Regions from separate parts of the Homo sapiens genome. Here region 2 is linked to region 1. The links are contacts of gene promoters, found by promoter capture Hi-C in blood cells and fetal thymus (Javierre and others, 2016). All regions are on one chromosome and are shown on one strand. The core of a region is centred on a gene start or on the middle of the fragment in contact, and the rest is flanking DNA. Distances in the headings are between cores, read along the strand shown. Region 1 holds the start of IQCF6 (IQ motif containing F6). Region 2 has its middle 26 kb from the start of GRM2.

Region 1 (2,740 bases), core at 118-2,617:
TTCACACTGACTTCCACGTTGTTTACAGTAGCTCTGCTGGTTGTGCCCTACAATCACAGGAATTCAGATAAATTCTATTTCACAAAATTCCCACCAAGAAAAGAAAAAAGTATGGAAATGTTTAAAATTGTATCATTGCATTGTCAAGTATATTCCTGAAAAGAGAGAGCTTCAATTTTAATCAGGCATCAATGAGACTTGAATCTTCCACTTATAGTTTTACACATCTAATAACAGGAAGAATTTTCTACAGACTGGCTTCTGGTTCCATACTTTTCACATTTACTTTTCCTCCCCTGCCCAAATACTTTTGGTGCCAGCACTGGAAGACACGTTCTTATTGGATAGCAGCCCTTCTGTTCCTGCATCTTCACGCCATGAGCAAGGTGAATGAACACAGCAACAGCAGAATGGCTAGCAAGGATTTATGTGTTCCCAAGGGTGACTGTGAACCACACAAATCTATGCTGTTAAACTGAGTCTAGGCCGGGCGCGGTGGCTCACGCCTGTAATCCCAGCACTTTGGGAGGCAGAGGAGGGCGGATCACGAGGTCAGGAGATCGAGACCATCCTGGCTAACACAGTGAAACCCCGTCTCTACTAAAAAGACAAAAAATTAGCCGGGCGTGGTGGCGGGCACCTGTAGTCCCAGCTACTCAGGAGGCTGAGGCAGGAGAATGGCCTGAACCTGGGAGGCGGAGCTTGCAGTGAGCCGAGATTGTGCCACTACACTCCAGCCTGGGCGACAGAGCGAGACTCTGTCTCAAAAAAAAAAAGAAAAAAAAAAACTGAGTCTATCCCAACTCAGCCTTCCCTTAGTCTCGTGGCAAAAGAGGTTGCCATTCCACCCCACTCAACAGGAGGTGAGTGACAGAGGGAGTAAGAGGGAAGAGAGACAGAGGTCCTCTCCAATTGCAGCTGAAATATCTTGCTTTCACAAATTTTACCCAAAAATATACAGCTCTGTAAACACGTTCCTCGGGCCCTGACAGGCGCCCTGACACTTAAGCTTCAGGAAATCCAAATTGGCTATGAGTAGAGGCTTAAAGTAAAACTCCTTCCTTGTAGGTAAGCTGCATGACTCTCTCTTCACTGCCATCAGGAGGATCAGGAATGCCACTGGGGCTGAGAAATAAACTGAAGGCAAGAGATAATGGTAGGCTCCCAAAGTGGTGGGAATCAATAAAGCAAAAGAGATGAAAGCAAGAGAAGAGGAGAGAGAAATGTGGTTAAAATGCGTGCAGACGGGACCTGATGAGGTAGAGTCTTGTGTGCAAGTGGGCGGAGTCCAATGATGGAGGTGTGACTAACAGTTGAGGGTGGGGCTAAAGACAAGGGTGGCCTAAGTGACAGATAAGTGGACCCTAAGGATCAAGGCCATGGACACGCAAAATGTGAGTAAGGCCCTTGCAGTAGGGACTTACCTGACAGGTAATGAACCGTGTCTAAATGTGAGTGGGGGATTGGAAACAAGATGGATGGGCCCTAGAAACAAGAAGTCAGGGGCACCTGGGCCAGGCCTTCTTTCCTCCCAAGATCAGAGATGGGGATAGGAACAGGAGGGGAGGGTCCCCCATTGAGCATCTCCCTGTTTTTCCTTTCCCCCAATCAGTTAGAGAAGACAGCCATAAAGATTCAGTCATGGTGGCGTGGAAACATGGTGCGCCGGACGTTACTGCAGGCAGCACTCAGAGCCTGGGTCATCCAGTGCTGGTGGAGGTCAATGCAGGCCAAGATGTTGGAGCAAAGACGGCGCCTGGCACTAAGACTCTATACCTGCCAGGAGTGGGCGGTGGTGAAGGTGCAGGCACAGGTTCGAATGTGGCAGGCCCGCAGGCGGTTCCTCCAGGCACGCCAAGCGGCCTGCATCATCCAGTCTCACTGGCGCTGGCATGCCAGCCAAACCCGAGGCCTGATCCGGGGCCACTATGAGGTCAGAGCCAGCCGGCTGGAGCTTGACATCGAAATCCTCATGACCTAGGGCGCTGACAGAGCCAAGGAGGCTGGATCTCTCTTCCAATAAAGACCCTTACTGACCATACACTTGCCCTTTGGAGATTAGACTCATGGAGGAGGGTTCAGCCTCTAAGTTTTCTGCCTTCCCCCCAGAAAGATTCCCTGGTGTGGTCTAGAGCCCCTGTCCTCAGGTCACCAACCTAGGCCCCTGTTCCTAACAGCATACCGGGACAGTCTTGCATCCAAGAGAGACCCCAGGGCCCAGGTCAAGCAATGATGCCTCAGTCAGCCTGATTTTGGCCCCTTCCACAGTGGGAGTAGGCATTGGGCTTTAGTTTCCTGCAGCCCCTGTCCAGGCATCTCCATTCAGATCAGAAGATCAGAGAATCTGGCTGCAGCCAGGGCCAGCTGGGAAGGCCAGGATTCCACAGGCCTGTGCTTGGCAAGGCCCTCAGGGCCGGCAGAGTGCTTGGCAGGGAGCCAGGAGGACATGGCACTTCAGCTGGGCAACAGCAGGACAGACGCTGTGCCTTATGGTGGGGAAGGGAGTCAGGGAGCAGCCAGCCAGAGCCAGCCCCTGGGGAAGCCAGAGCAGGAGCTGAGGGCAGCAGCTGTGCCTGCCGCCTGCCCACCCTGGGGCTGAACAACAAGGCTTCCCTCCCCTCTGCTGGGCACTTCCTTGGAGAACCAGGCATGGGATCAGGGAGGGGAGAGAGACTTGGGGGCTGTGGGGGGATGGTTGTGGGGGTGGCATGGGGGCAGGTAAACAAACAGAGGACTAGGG
Region 2 (2,740 bases), core at 109-2,608, 46 kb after region 1:
CTACTCACAATACCAAAGACATTGAATCAACCCAAATGTCCATCAGTGATAGTCTGGATAAGGAAGATGTGGTACATATACACTGTGGAATACTATGCAGCCATCAAAAGGAATGAGATCATGTCCTTTGCAGGGACATGGTTAGAGATGGAAGCCTTTATCCTCAGCAAACTAACACAGGAACAGAAAACCAAACACCACATGTTCTAACTTATAAGTGGGAGCTGAACAATGAGAACACATGGACACATGGAGGGAAACAACACACACTGGGGCCTCTTGAGGGGCGCAGCGGGAGGCAGAGCATCAGGAAAAATAGCTAATGCATGTGGGGCTTAATTACCTAGGTGATGGGTTGATAGGTTGCAGCAAACCACCATGGCACATGTTTAAACCTATGTAACAAACCTGTACTTCCTGCACATGTATCCTGGACCTTAAAATAAAATTTAAAAAAAAATTTAAGTTATCAGACCAGGAATTTAAAATATTGTAATTAATATGCTAAGGGCTCTAATAGAAATTGTAGATAACATATAAGAACAGATGGATAATGTAAGCAGAGAGATGAAAATTCTAAAAAAGAATAAAAAGAAAATGTTAGAGACCCAAAACACTGTAACACAATTAAGAGTGACTTTGATGCGCTCATTAGTAACCTGGACATGGCTGAGGAAAGAATCTCTGAGCCTGAGTATATATCAATAGAAACTTCTAAAATGAAAAGCAATGAGGTTTTTAAATGGGACAGAATATCCAAGAACTGCAAAACAACTACAAAAAGTGTAAGAAACATATACATAATGGGAATACCAGAGGGAGAAGAAAAGGAGAACAAGACAGAAGTAATATTTGAAGCAATAATGACCGAGTATTTTCCCAATTTAGTTTCAGACACTGACGATGGATCCAGGACTCTCAGAGAGCACCCAGCATGATAAATGCCAAGAAAACAAAAACAAACAAAACAAAACAAACAAAAACTATAACTAGGCATATCATATTGAAACTGCAGGCCTGGCATGATGGCTCATGCCTGTAATCCCACACTTTGAGAGGCCAAGGCAGGTGGATCACCTGAAGTTCGGAGTTCGAGACCAGCCTGGCCAACATGGTGAAGCCCTATCTCTACTAAAAATACAAAAATTAGCCGGGCATGGTGGTGGGCGCCTGTAATCCCAGCTACTCAGGAGGCTGAGGCAGGAGAATCACTTGAATCTGGGAGGCAGAGGTTGCAGTGAGCCAAGAGATTGCACTGTTGCACTTCAGCCTAGGCAACAAGAGCAAAACTCCGAGCCAAAAAAAAGAGAAAGAAAGAAAGAAAGAAAGAAACTACAGAAAATTGGAGAAAATCTTGAAAAAAGCCAGAGGGAAAAACACCTTACCTATAGAAGAGCAAAGATAAGCATTACATCTAACTTCTCAGAAACCATGCAAGCAAGAAAGGAATGGTGTGAAATATTTAAAGAGTTGAGAGAAAAAAGTCATTGACTCAGAATTCTGTACCTTTTGAGGTTATTCTTCAAAAGTGAAGGAGAAATAACAACTTTCTCAGACAAACAAAAATTGAGGGAATTTTTTGCCAGTAGGCCTGACTTGCAAGAAATGTTAAAAGAAATTCTTCAGAGAGAGGCCAGGCATGGTGGCTCACGCCTGTAATCCCAGCACTTTGGGAGGCGGAGGCGGGTGGATCACAAGGTCAGGAGATCGAGACCATCCTGGCCAACATGGTGAAACCCCGTCTCTACTAAAATACAAAAAATTAGCTGGGCATGGTGGCGCACGCCTGTAATCCCAGCTACTCGGGAGGCTGAGGCGGGAGAATCACTTGAACCCAGGAGGCAGAGGTTGCAGTGAGCCGAGATCACGCCACTGCACTCCAGCCTGGTGACAGAGCAAGATTCTGTCTCAAAAATAAATAAATAAATATAAATTCTTCAGAGAGAAGAAAAATGATATAATCAGAAATTCAGATTACAGAAAGAAAAGAAAAACATTAGAAATAATTAAGTGAAGGTAAAATAAGAACTTTAAAAATTAATTTCTAATTGATCTAACAGATAACAGTTTATTCAAAATAATAGCAATAGCTACAATGTATTTAGTGATTACAGCTTATGTAGAAGTGAAAGAATGACAGCAATAATACAAGGGATAGGAGGGAGGAATTAAGAATACTTTATTATAAGATACTTGCATTACCCATGAAGTGGCATAGTTTTACTTAAAAGTGAACTTGGACTAGTTGTAAATGTATTTTGCAAACTCTAGGGCAATTACTAAAAAAATAGAAGTATTACTGATATGCTAAGTCTTACTGATATGGAAAGGGAGAAATGGAATCATATAAGGTGATCAGTTAAACAACAAAAGGCAGAAAAAGAGTGGAAGACAGAAACAAAGAAAAAGGACAACAAATAGAAAGCAATGATGAATCTGACAGATATCACTTTCAATGGCAAAAACTGCAATCACCTTTGCACCAACCTAATAGTTATCTATATCAATAAATTTCAATGGATTAAATACACCAACTAAAAGACAGAGGTGGTTAAAGTGAATCACACAAGACATAACTGTATGTTGTCTACAAGAAACCCACTTTAAATATAAAGACATACATAAATTGAAAAAAGATGAAGAGGCCAGGCATAATGGCTCATACCTGTAATCACGGCACTTTGGGTTGCTAAGGCAGGAGGACTGCTTGAGGTCAGGAGTTTGAGACCAACCTGGGCAA

What was found. The method cuts DNA at HindIII sites, captures the fragments that hold promoters and counts their contacts. A CHiCAGO score of 5 or more calls a contact.
Region 2: a fragment that was not itself captured here is called in contact with the fragment with the promoter of IQCF6 in region 1 in 1 of 17 cell types (M2 macrophages); the score reaches 5.3 in M2 macrophages.

What each region holds. Positions count from the first base shown.
Region 1 is chr3:51,777,864-51,780,603 of GRCh38, reverse strand. IQCF6 (IQ motif containing F6) reads left to right here and starts at 1,367. Exons shown (of 2, transcript NM_001368369.1): 1 at 1,367-1,451; 2 at 1,613-2,041. The coding sequence starts at 1,380. The coding sequence ends at 1,981. All of the region lies in intron 2 of LOC105377087 (a long non-coding RNA gene), which reads right to left. The HindIII fragment of the contact is 3,019 bases long and covers 1,012-2,740 here.
Region 2 is chr3:51,731,427-51,734,166 of GRCh38, reverse strand. No RefSeq gene overlaps it. Among named protein-coding and RNA genes, the nearest start is that of GRM2, 26 kb to the right of the region's middle. The HindIII fragment of the contact is 4,672 bases long and covers 1-2,740 here.